Regions from separate parts of the Homo sapiens genome. Here regions 1, 3 and 4 are each linked to region 2. The links are contacts of gene promoters, found by promoter capture Hi-C in blood cells and fetal thymus (Javierre and others, 2016). All regions are on one chromosome and are shown on one strand. Each heading gives the region's core, a stretch centred on a gene start or on the middle of the fragment in contact. The rest is flanking DNA. Distances are from core to core; before and after follow the strand shown.

Evidence for each region. The method cuts DNA at HindIII sites, captures the fragments that hold promoters and counts their contacts. A CHiCAGO score of 5 or more calls a contact.
Region 1: a contact is called between a fragment that was not itself captured here and the fragment with the promoter of MYO3B-AS1 in region 2, in 1 of 17 cell types (endothelial precursors). The highest score is 7.2, in endothelial precursors.
Region 3: a fragment that was not itself captured here is called in contact with the fragment with the promoter of MYO3B-AS1 in region 2 in 14 of 17 cell types (M1 macrophages, M2 macrophages, fetal thymus and 11 more); the score reaches 13.2 in M1 macrophages.
Region 4: a contact is called between a fragment that was not itself captured here and the fragment with the promoter of MYO3B-AS1 in region 2, in 5 of 17 cell types (M2 macrophages, naive CD4 T cells, M0 macrophages and 2 more). The highest score is 8.8, in M2 macrophages.

The regions. Positions count from the first base shown.
Region 1 is chr2:169,441,006-169,444,088 of GRCh38, reverse strand. No RefSeq gene overlaps it. Among named protein-coding and RNA genes, the nearest start is that of BBS5, 37 kb to the left of the region's middle. The HindIII fragment of the contact is 332 bases long and covers 1,398-1,729 here.
Region 2 is chr2:170,349,670-170,353,072 of GRCh38, reverse strand. MYO3B-AS1 (MYO3B antisense RNA 1) reads left to right here and starts at 2,130. Exons shown (of 4, transcript NR_110576.1): 1 at 2,130-2,194. All of the region lies in intron 8 of MYO3B (myosin IIIB), which reads right to left. The HindIII fragment of the contact is 2,320 bases long and covers 338-2,657 here.
Region 3 is chr2:170,861,307-170,864,594 of GRCh38, reverse strand. No RefSeq gene overlaps it. Among named protein-coding and RNA genes, the nearest start is that of GAD1-AS1, 44 kb to the right of the region's middle. The HindIII fragment of the contact is 6,602 bases long and covers 1-3,288 here.
Region 4 is chr2:170,880,039-170,883,121 of GRCh38, reverse strand. No RefSeq gene overlaps it. Among named protein-coding and RNA genes, the nearest start is that of GORASP2, 48 kb to the left of the region's middle. The HindIII fragment of the contact is 3,068 bases long and covers 1-2,896 here.

The sequences.
Region 1 (3,083 bases), core at 314-2,813, 910 kb after region 2:
AATATCTTCTTTAAATGTTTTATAGAATCTGCCAGTGAAACCATCTGAGTCTAGAAATTTCTTTCTTTCTCTTTTTTCTTTTTTTGAGACGGAGTCTCGCTCTGTCACCCAGGCTGGAGTGCAATGGCCCGATCTTGGCTCACTGCAGGCTCCGCCTCCCGGGTTCACGCCATTCTCCTGCCTCAGCCTCCTGAGTAGCTAGGACTACAGGCACTCACCACCATGCCCGGCTAATTTTTTGTATTTTTAATAGAGACGGGGTTTCACCGTGTTAGCCAGGATGGTCTTGATCTCCTGACCTCGTGATCTGCCCACCTTGGCCTCCCAAAGTGCTGGGATTACAGGCGTGAGCTAGAAGTTTCTTTTTAGAAGGTTTTCAACGACATGTTCCATTTCTTTAATAGTTACAGAAAAATTCAGATTGTCTATTTCATCTTGGTTGCATTTTGGTATTTTGAGGTTTTAAGGAACTGGTTCATTTCATCTTTGTTGTTCCATTTATGTGCTTAGAATGGTAGCATTCCCTTATACCTTAAACATCTGTGGGGTCTATAGTGATCCCATCTTTCTTTCCTGATATTGATAATGTGTGTCTTTTCTCCTTTTTTCTTTGTTGATCTTGATAGAGAATTTTAAATTTTATTGATCTTTTCAAAGTACTAGCTTTTGGTTTTATTTTGTCTAGTCTTCTTTCTTCCAGTTGCCCTTTTTTGGTTTGGTTAGTTTTAATTTCATTGATTTCTGCTTTTACCTTTATTATTTTCTTCCTTTTGCATGCTTTGAACATATGTTGCTCTTCTTTTTCTAGTTTTTAAAAATAGAATCTTAGCTAGTGGATCTGAGATCATTCTTCTTCTTAATATGAGCACATAATGGGTATAATTTCACCTTTAAACACTGCTTTACCTGTACACCACAAATTTTTACATTTTATTTTATGTTTCATTTAATTCAAAGTATTTTCTAATTTCTCCTGAGGCTTCCTCTTTGATCTGTGGGTTGTTTAAAGATCTACTGTTTAATTTAAAAGTGTTTAAAACTTTTTTTGGTATTATTGATTTTTAGTTTAATTTTCTTATGGCCAAAGAACTTTGTGTGATTTCAACTCTTTTACTTTTGATAAGGTTTATTTTATGACCTAGTATATGCTCTATCTTGATGAATATTCTGTGTGCCTATATAAAGACTATCATGTTGTTATGGGGTAAAATATTCTATTAATGTTGATTAGATACAGTTCTTTAATAGCATTGTTCAGTTCTGTGTCCTTGCTGATTTTCTGTCTACTTGTTCTAACGATTACTGAAAGAGGAGAGTTGAAATTTTCAACTATAATTGTGGGTTTGTCCATTTTTCCTTCCAGTTTTGTTAGTTTTTGCTTCATGTATTTTAAAGCTTTGTTGCTAGGTATATTATCACTTAGGATGGTTATATATTCTTGGTTAATGGACAATGTCCCTTTTTATCCCTGGTAATTGTCTTTGCTCTGAATTCTTCTCTGCTATTAAATAGTCACTCTAGCTTTAAAGTTTTTTTTTTTTAATTAAGGCTATCATTTTTTCCACCCATGTATTTTTTAAAAATTTATTTATTGATTAAGAGAGAAGGTCTCACTATGTTGCCCTACATGCATTCTGACAGAGAGGGAGGGCATTACATAAAGAAAAAGGGGTCCATTCACCAAGAACACATAACAATTCTGAATGTGTACACACCTAACAACAAAGCTTGAAAATACATAAAGCAAAAACTTACGAAACCTGAAAAAGCAATAGACAAATTTACAGTTAAAACTGGGAGCTTCAATCTTCATCCCCCAAGAATCAATAGAATCAACAGCATACCATAACCTTTTTTTTTTTTTTTTTTTTGAGATGGAGTCTTGCTCTGTCGCCAGACTAGAGTGCAGTGGCGTGATCTCAGCTCACTGCAACCTCTGCCTCCTGGGGTCAAGCGATTCTCCTGCCTCAGCCACCCGAGTAGCTGAGATTATAGGCATGCACCACCATGCCCAGCTAATTTTTGTATTTTTAATAGAGACGGGGTTTCACCTTGTTGGCCAGGATGGTCTCGATCTCTTGACCTCATGATTCGCCGGCCTCGGCCTCCCAAAGTGCTGGGATTACAGGCATGAGCCACAGAGCCTGGCCCCATAACCTTTGAGAACATAAACAGTTACGTACAGGCTGTGATTTCTGATCAATCCGCTCTGGGTGTGGTTCCAACGTTAGTTCAGTTTTTAAAGCCTATGCAATGCTCCTTGTTTCTGTCCCTTGTATGTGCCACCCAATGTACAGTCTGGGAGCTGGGCTGCAGTCTGTCCCACCTTTCAGTTCTCAAAGTCTATGATATGCTGTTAAGGGTCAGATTCATGCACACACCACTCAGGAATAAGCTCCAGAGCCTAGAAACGACTTTATTGGGTCACACTTCCTAGCTCCTCCCTCTCTACGTTCTCCTCAGAATTTTCAGTTTCCTTCATCTTTTTAGTTCTCCAGCCCAAAAAACTGAGTTTTAAGTTAGCCCAGTCTGTGTGTATTCAGAGTCAAATAGTAGGAGGCTAGAGAGAGAAAAAACCAACAGGGATTTGCCCCACTTTGGGGGACCACAGCTCCTCTGATCAGAGAGGAACATTCTGTACTTCAGAGTTTTAGGGACCTGCAGCCTCTGCTGCCACCACTGTCTTTGCTGCAACTGTTGTCATGGGATCGTCTGGCTTCTGGGGCATGACAGAAAAATGAACAAAGGAAAATGATGAATTGCCCCCATCTCGATGAGTGTTAGAATTCTCCTTTCCCACTCCTGGACCCAAAACTAGAGGGCTTTTCTTGAAGCACTCTCTGTCTACATCTGGGTGCCCACTTCAGAGTTTCAGACTTCCCTGAGTCCTGGCCAGGAGGGAAAAAAAGGGAAAACTCAGTACTGGCTTGGTGGTGCTTTGAATTCTGGTGTCCTTTCCAAATCTTCTTGCTATCATTTATTTTGCAGTGTTCCTAAATAGATGCTCCATGCACTGTATCTAGGTTTTATAGCTGGATGGCTCAGGGGGCTGATGGTATTGGTGACTGTCATAGCTTTTAAAA
Region 2 (3,403 bases), core at 881-3,380:
ATTCCTTTAGGTAAATATTAAAAAGGGCGATTGCTAGACCCTACGGTAAGCATATGTTTACTTTTGTAAGAAATTAGCAAACTGTCTTCCAAAGTGGCTATACCATTTGCATTCCCACCAAAAATGAAGGAGAGTTCCTTTTGCTCCACATCCTTGGCAGCATTTGGTATTGTCAGTGTTCCAGATTTTGGTCATTCCAATAGGTATGTAGTGGTATCTCATTGTTGAATCTTTTTATTTTATTGTCAAAAGTTATATGCAGTAGGAAGACTATGAGGAAATCCTGTCTATCCCAAACGAGTAAACAATAGTATCCTAGAACCAGCATGCATAAGCTTACTAGACATTACTGTTAACATTTTCAGGAATTCTGTGAGCTGGTTGATATCAGATTGATAGCTTGAAATTGGCTATGGTGGGAATATTTACACCATGAAAACGAGTAAACACTGAAAATCAGCCCCACTCCCACCCCTATCCGCAACCAGCCAGTTTAAACATTTACCAGTACACCACTGCTTATGTACTGGAAATCTTGGGAAAAACTGACTGCCTGATAATTCAAAAGCATGGTCATATAGATAGAAATCTCTTTTTACCAACCTTTTCCTCCAATGCTTTTTTTCCTCATTTCCTGTCTTCTGTTAGATTGATTAAATTTTCTGTAGACCCTTTCTTCTTTTGGTTTAGAAACTAGACATTGTTTTTCTATAGTTTTAACATATTTGCTTAACTACAAATTAGTTTAACATGTTTGCTTAACTGTCAATTTTCCTGTAGTTCTATCCCCTTTCTGAGTACAAAAACCTATGCGTGCCTAGGCCGGGCACGGTGGCTCACACCTGTAATCTCAGCATTTTGGGAGACCAAGGAGGGCGGGTCACCTGAGGTCAGGAGTTCGAGACCAGTCTGGCCAACACGGTGAAACCCCGTCTCTACTAAAAATACAAAAATCAGCCAGGTGTTGTGGCATGCACCTGCAACCCCAGCTACTCAGGAGGCTGAGGCAAGAGGATCGCTTGAACCTGGGAGGCGGAGGTTGCAGTGAGCCGAGATCATGCCACTGCACTCTAGCCTGGGCGACGGAGCGAGACTCCATCTCAAAAACAACAACAAAAAACCAAACAAAGAAAAACAACTTGTGCATGCCTAAATCACACACTGGATGCTGTCCCTGCCCCAACTGTATGATTAGAGTTAGTTTTTACGTATTTTATCCCAAATTGTTTTCCTTCTTACAGTTAGTAGTTATCTACATTAATCCTTCAGACTATTCCATGAATTTAGTTTCATTTCAAACGAATTTATGCTTCATTTGTTGTTTTGGTGGGTTGTCTTCCTCAGCTTTAGGTTTATTCAGGTGTTCTGAAATTTCAGTTGGCAGGCTCACTGAAAGGGTGAGGAGGAAGAGGATTTTGTTTTCTCTCTCCCTCTCACTTCCCCTTTGCCCACCCTCCTATTCTAGTAATGTTATGGTTATGTCTGCTTGGCTCTCTGGGTCTCTAGCCCAGAGCCAGGTTGTAGAATGGCATTTTGTGCTGCTGTCCCATGGTCTTATTGGGCATATGGAAGAGCCTATGACTGTGGCAGCCACAGGCCTGGCTGCTTATATATCCTTCTACCATCCTCAGCCAGAAGGTGGCTAAAAGTCATAGTCCTGGGTGATGGTCAGCATCACCCCAGACGATGGAGAATATGTGGAAGAAATTGCTACAGTTAGAGCACAGGATCACATAACCTCTCCCCTACCCCATTCTTTTTCCCAGACGCTTTTTATCAGCCTAAATGAACCACCTCATTTACTGGCTTCAAGTAGGAGTCTCAACTCTGAATCCTATCTTGTTTGGAGCCCTGTTAGTCTTTTTACTCACAGGAGTCACCACTGCTCTTGATACCTGCGGACCTGTGACTTCAGCCCAGCTGAGCACTTCATGAGCATTCCATTCTCATCCATCACAATGAACATTCTGAATATAACTAACTTCCTTCCTTCCTGCCTTCCTCCCTCCCTGCCTTCCCTTCCTTCCTGCCTTCCTTCTTCCTTCCTCCCTTTTTTCTTTTCTCCCTTCCTTCCTTCTTAATATGTTTTTGGCCTTTTCTTTATATATGTGGCCTAGCAATATCCTGTGTTTGGAAAAGTATAAACCTAAGGCATCACCTTTACAGAAAATATCTTCCACGGAAACATCTAAAGGCAAAAATCCTTCAAATTCAAATTTATCCAATCATTTCTTCTGCTTACTACCATCCTAAATCATTTTTCTTTAGTAAGATCTATTAGTGTGAAGCTATTAAGCTATTAATGTATGTATCATATTAATGTATTAAGACATTAAGGTACGTGGCCAAAATTAACATCTGTGAGACGTGCCCCTAATCTTTTTTCCCCCTGCCAACACCTTGATTTTAACCTAATTTTATTTTACAGTGAGGAAGTAAAGTTGCATTCACAGGCCTTGAACTTTTCCACATCTCGATTTTTACCCATCATCTCTGCATAGTTCCCTAAGGCAGCCTTCAAATGGTGATGTTTCTTATAATCCAGAGTTCAGAAGTGGCTTCTCTTCAATCTTTCTGTGGAATTCTAAACCACGTGATAAAGGAGCTGGTGGTGAGAAATAAGGGAAGGCAGAGATGAAAAGGAATGGGCAGAAGCTTTTGGAGAGGAATAACCACTGAGATTGCCATGAAGGATTCATTCTGACATTCTTTTCATGTATTTAAGGCAATCAAAAAAGAATCCACAGCTAACCACGTAGCTATCAATTTAACAATCCTATCATGTTTCTTCTTACAGTTAAAATTTCGGTTTTTGGGAGGTCGAGGCGGGCAGATCACTTGAGCCCACAAGTTGGAGATCAGCCTGGGCAACATGGCAAAACCCAGTCTCTACTAAACATACAGAAAATTAGCTGGGTGTGCACGTGCCTGTAATCCCAGCTACTTGGGAGGCTGAGGGAAGAGGATTGCTTCACCCTGGGAGGTTGAGATTGCAATGAGCCGAGATCGCGCCACTGCAATCCAGCCTGGGCAACAGAGCAAGACACTATCTCAAAGGAAAAAAAAATGTTCAGTTGTGTTCTGGGATACTGTGTGTATATTGAGAGAGGAAGGTGTATCTGACCACTTTTGCCACCCCTTATTCTCTTCCTTATCATTATGTTTGTCGTTTGGAGAGACTGTCCAAAGATCATGAGTTCTAACATCCAACTTCTATCTAGGTCCATTATATGAGGTGCATAATTTTTTTCTTTCTTTCTTTTTTTTTTTTTTTTGAGACAGGGTCTCATTCCATCGCTCAGGCTGGAGTGCAGTGGTGCAATCTCAGCTCACTGCAACATCCACCTCCCAGATTCCAGTGATCTCCTGCCTCAGCCTCCCAAGTAGCTGGGATTACAGGTGC
Region 3 (3,288 bases), core at 17-2,516, 510 kb before region 2:
TAAGTAATGGGTACTCAAGTATAATGTCATCACCCTTTGTCCTATACATGTATGTCTAATAAAGCCCTTCTTGGTCAGGCACAGTGGCTTATGCCTGTAATTCTAGCAGTTTGGGAGGCCGAGGTGAAAGGATCAGTTGAGTTCAGGAGTTTGAGACTAGTCTGGGCAACAGAATGAGACTCCATCTCTACAAAAAAATAAAAAATTAGCTGGGCATGATGGCATGCACCTGCAGTCCCAGTTACTTGGGAGGCTGAGGTGGGAGGATTGCTTAAGCCCAGGAGTTCGAGGTTGCAGTGAGCTGTGATCATGCCACAATACTCTAGCCTGGGTGACAAAGCGGGATCCTGTCTCAAAAAAAAAAAAAAAAAAAAAATCAGTTATTGTAGATTATCTAAGGAGGGTTTTGTTTTTGTTTCTGTTTTTTTTTTTTTGAGATGGTGTCTCACTCTGTTGCTCAGGCTGGAATGCAGTGGCATGATCATGGCTCACTGCAGCCTTGACCTCTTGGGCTCCAGTGATCTTCCCACCTCAGCCTTCTGAGTAGCTGGCATCACAGGGGCTCACCACCACACTCCCAGCTATTTTTTTATTTTTTGTAGAGATGGGATCTCCCAATGTACCCAGGCTGGCCTTGAACTCCTGGGCTCAAGGCAGTCCTTCCAGTTTGGCCTTCCAAAGTGCTGGGATCACAGACGTGAGCCACTGCACCTGGCCAGTAACTGATGTTAAATAAAAGGCATCCTGGCCAAATGTACTACTTGGAGAAGAAAGGATCCCAACTACAAGGTCTGGACAGTGTAGACTGCCAGGGGCCCAGGCCTGAGGGTCTGAGTCCTAAGTGGTTGCAGGAGGATAAACCTTTACTGCCTCCTGTGCAATGAGCTGGGAGGACCCCAGAGGGATCCTTCAAAAGTGCTTCACGAAAAAGCAAATTAGAACCACAAGATAACACTTTTAGAATGGCCAGCATGGGGGGAAAATGACAGTACCAAGTGTCAGCAAGAATATGGAGCAACTGGAATATTTGTGCATTGCTGGTGAGAATGCAAAATGGTACAGCCACTTTGGAAAATAGTTTAGCAGTTTCTGATAAAATTAAACATATTATTAATGTTATCTTGCAATCCTACACGTAGGTATTTACCCAAGTTAAATGAAATCTATGTTCACAGAAAAATCTGCACACTATTGTTTCCAGTAGCTTTATTCTAATCGCCAAAAAAACTGGAAACAACAGAAATTCCCCTCTACTAAGGGATGGATAAGCAGAGTATGGTACATTTATGCAAATGGAATACTATGCGGTAGTGAAAAGGAATGAACACTGATATAGAGATAACATGGATGGATTTCAAGTGCACTACGTTAAGCAAAAGAAACCAGACTAAAAAAAGACTAAATCTTATATGATTCCATTTACATGGTGGGAAAGGCAAAAGTCTAGGGACAGAAAACAAAGCAGAGGTTGCCAAGAGCTGAGTAGGAGAGGTGTTCAGTACAAAGGGGGATGGGAAATTCGTTGGGGTGACAGACCTGTTGTAGACCTTGATCATGATGATAGTTATTAATACATGACTGAATGGGTTTGTCAAAATCCACAGAAAACTATACACAGTACACTACAAAAAGTTTCATTGTATCTAAATTTTACCTTAATTCCAAAAATCCTCATTCACTCCAGAAAATTTCTCAAAAAAAAAAACAAAAAACCCCCCCAAAAAACAAAAACTCATGTTCCAGGGAACTTGATGCCCAATGACAATTTAATAGCCATGTAAAATTTTACCTTTGTCACGTTATCCCTTCCTCCCGCTAGGCCTGACCCTGAATGAGGAAGCACAGGAGCTAGGGAGATGAGCTGAAAGATGAAGAAAAAAGGTGACCTCACCCACCGTCAGCCTTGCTCTCCCTGCCACTGTAGGCTTGCAGCTGAAGCAGTGCCAGATCGGGGGGAGGGGGGAGAAACTCTATATCATATAAAAATTGAAACTTTGCTTATTACATCAACCTGGACCCTCAGTTGCAAAAATGAGACTGTTCATGCACCCGAGAGGACAGAAAAGCTATGGGATTGGCCTAAATTCAAATGGGGGCATGGAAAAAATCAGCCCCCAGGGGCGTTTTATAGAAACAGTGAGAGAAAGAATAAGTGGCTTTATGATCACTCCCTATAGAGTCGTTTAATACAATGGTTACATGCAATCAGTGTGCTAATTACAAAGGACTCTTCTGTATTCCCTACCTGTGCTAAATAGGGAGCTTCTTGTATTCCAAATGAGTGAGATTGTATTAATATAGCTGAATAAAATATTGTAGAAAATGGGCTGGGCGCAGTGGCTCACGCCTGTAATCCCAGCACTTTGGGAGGCCGAGGTGGGCAGATCTCGAGGTCAAGAGATTGAGACCATCCTGGCCAACATGGGGAAACCGTGGCTCTACTAAAATACAAAAACTAGCTGGGTGTGGTGGTGCACGCCTGTAATCCCAGCTACTCAGAAGACTGAGGCAGGAGAATCGCTTGAACCGGGGAGACAGAGGTTGCAGTGAGCTGAGATGGCGCCACTGCACTCCAGCCTGGTGACAGAGTTGAGACTCTTTCTCTCTCTCTCTCTCTCTCTCACACACACACACACACATACACACACACACACACACACACAAAGAATATTGTAGAAAATCAGTCCCATATCCTAATGATCCAGCACCAACATATATTTCCCTAGGAAGTGAATGGGGACCACTCTACAAGCATAAAGCAGCAGGAAGTTATGCTTCTGTGATCTTAGAGGCACTCAGTTAGCAGAGATACCAAGTGATGTAAGATGCCCACTAGAAGGAATACTTATCTTTTGTTGAATGACTGAATGAATGTAACTCCAAGATGCAAGTAGGAAAAGGAGAAACAGGGATGGCTTTTCTTTCTCAAGGCTTGAACTGCACATTTAATTAATTATAATCATAATGATTTTATTGATTGATTGAGACAGGGTCTCACTCTGTCACCCAGGCTGGAGTGCAGTGGCACGATTTCAGCTCACTGCAGCCTTGATCTCCTGGGCTCAGGTGATCCTTGCACCTCAGGTTCCCAAATAGTTGGGACCACAGGTGCGCATCACCACAGCTGGCTAATTTTTACATTTCTTGCAGAGACAGGGTTTCGCCCTGTTGCACAGATGGGTCTCGAACTCCTGAGCTCAAGTGATCTGCCTGCCTCAGCCTCCCAAAGTGCTAGGATTACAGGCATGCACCACCATGCCCAGCCCATAATGATTTTATAGATGAGGA
Region 4 (3,083 bases), core at 113-2,612, 530 kb before region 2:
ACTGGGTAAGGAGGGAAGTTTCCTGAGGAGGGAGAACTGAGCAGCACCCAAATGTGTCTACTTCAGCCTTTCTGTCAGTCTTGTCACTTTGTCATTTCATCCCACATAGGCAACAGATTTTCTTTCTTTCCTTTTCTCTTTCTCTTCTTCCTTCCTTCCTTCCTTCCTTGCTCCCTTTCTCCCTTCCTCCTTCCCCTCCCCTCCCTTCACCTCCCTTCCCCTTCCCTTCCCTTCCCCTTCCCTTCCCTTCCCTTCCCCTTCCCTTCCCTTTCCCTTCCCTTTCCTTCCCCTTCCCCTTCCCTTCCCTTTCCTTCCCCTTCCCTTCCCTTTCCTTCCTTCCTTCTTTCCTTCCTTCCTCCGTTCCTTCTTTCTTTCCTTTCTTCTCTTTCTTTTCTTTTCTTTCTTCCTTTCTTTGACAGGGTCTTGCTCTGTCATCTGGAGTGCAGTGGAACAATCATGGTCCACTGTAGCCTCAACCTCCTGGGCTCAAGCAATCTTCCTGCCTCAGCTTCTCAAGTAGCTGGGACTCAGCTACTCGGCGCATACCACCACACCCAGCTAATTTCTTTTTTGTAGAAATGGGGTCTCACTGTGTTGCCCAGGCTGATCTTGAACTCTTGGCTTCAAGCAATCCTCCCACTTTGAGCCCCCAAAGTGCTGAGATTACAGGTGTGAGCCACCATACCCGGCTGGTGATAGATTTTCTGTAGGTTGTATTGCCATCAGTTGGAGTTTTCTAGAAGTAAAAGAGATTCTGAGTATGGGAATTTCCAAAATGTAGTAGGTCTTGCTCATTAAAATGGGCCCAAGAAAGCACTCATGAAGCATTTTATGGGGTGCTTTTGGAGACTACTAAATAAAATGGTTTAGTTATAAAACAGCTGGAGTTGATCCATTGAACAAAAATATAAGAGGGCTATTTCGCTGAGCTGGCTAGTGTAAATCTTACTAAAATTAGAAACTGGAGCCCAATACTAGTAGTGAGACAGAGCTTACACAAAGATCTTAATAAACATATTACAGTGGTTTCTAGGGGAACTTACCAGTGAAAGGCAGGAGCTTTTATTTTGGAGTCACTGCTGCAGAAAATGAGGGCATCAAAGACTAAGTCCCATTGCTGTCATTGTGGTTGTTTTCAGACAGGGACGTCCGTTTTTCTAGCAGGGAAATCTAGATGATGGGCAGTTTCACCAGCCATACCCATAGTTAAGGAAGATAACTTGACAAGGTACAGCCTGGGACACAGATTTCAGAAGCTACTTGGCCCTCCCCAAATGCCTTCCCCCACCCACTGGCTGAGGTGCTTTAAGATGGGATGAAAATCTTATTCACTGCCTAGTGGTAATTTTACAGAGCAGGGATCACTGGGAAAGGTAACACATGGGCGGGCATGAGGCACTGTCATAAAAGCAGGCTTTGCTCAGACATGGACTGCACATCTAAAGGTGACTGTAGGAAGAGGGACGTGGGGAAAAAGAAAGGAGGTTACTGGGATGGAAAGCAAATGGCGAATGCCTAACACTTCAGCTTGGGGTCTGTTCTGGAGGAAAAAAATATTTTTGTGCACCAAAAAATGTCTGAAGACAGTTTACTATGGCTTAGCTTAAAAGGGAAAAATAAAGAGGGGAAATATTGCTTTCAAGTACTTAAATGTAAGAAAGATTTTAATGGGCTCTATCTATAGAAAATAAAGATTTTCTGAGAAGCGAGCTGTAGTAATAAATTCTAGTTCAGGGTCAGGTTACTGAAGGGAAGTGGAAGTGGGTTTGGGCACTATATTCAAGAAGTCTGGAAGAGAGGATAGAGTTAGATTTGTTTTGAATAAGGTGAGCCTGACTTAGTTTGAGTCGTGTTTGCAGCCTATTGCACTTTTATATACTAAACAAAATCTCAGAAATCTTCCCTTTATTTTCACCTGTTCTAATACCATTCACGGGCCAAGGCAATCCATCTAATTAAGTATGCTTGCATAGGCAGGTGTTCCCACTAGAGAAATAAAAATCAATGGAAGATTGTGGTAATTTTCACAGCCAACAGTGTTGGCCCACATTATTGGACCATTATATACTTGGTTTGCTGTCTGTTTATCTGTTGGTTACTTTTTTTTAAAAAAAATGATATCATCAAGTAATCTTCAGGGCATAAAAAGGAGCTTCATTCAACTCCTCAGTAATAACAGTCATTACTGTACTCTCTAAAAACAATTGGCTAGTTACGTGCAGCTTCTAAAGAGTTCCCTAATCCAGAAAACTGCAAATTACATAGTAATGATTATTGAGGTACTGTGGTAACTCCAGTCATCATTTCAATGTAATTGATAGAGCATGAATAACTATAAATTATGTCATATATACAACCTCTTTACAGGGAACTCACACAGTTATTTGTGGTATGCATAATAAAGCAAAATCTAAATTGAATGTTAATTTTAATAAAAATCACTTTTATACCTCATTTCCATCTGAATGGATACCATCTGTTTTAAGGTGCTAGCAGGGAGCAAAGTAAAATTGAACTCCAAAAATACAAACATTTGTTGTTTTCCAGCTTTTCCAATTTAATGATGAAAGCCATGAAAGAAACAAGAGACTTTGATATAGTATTGTTTTCCAGGGCAAGGGGTTATCAAAGACATTAACAAACGTTAATTAAGAATATTAGGATTTTTTTCCATGCTGAGCTAAGAAAACTCTCGGATCCCAGTTTTAGTTTGCAGATTTTTTGTTATTGTCCAACTTTAGGATCATCCAGTATCAAACCCACAGACTACAGTTTGATCAAAAGTAGCTCATGTAGGAGCTGAGCCCAGGAAGCACTAATGGGGCAGAGGGAAAGTGAGACCAGGAGGGGAAGGAAGTGAATGAAGTGTGTATTTCCACCATGGGCAACAGAAGCTTGATGCCGCTGGGGAATCTGGAGAGCATGAGAAACACCTCAGAGTAATCTTCACCTCATCCACCCATGGCTGGGATGTTTTGGGGCTCTAACTTGCTTTCTTTTTCTTTTCTTTTTCTTTCTTTCTTTCTTTCTTTCTTTCTTTTTTTTTTTTTTTTTTTGAGACAGGGTCTCGCTCTGTTACCCAA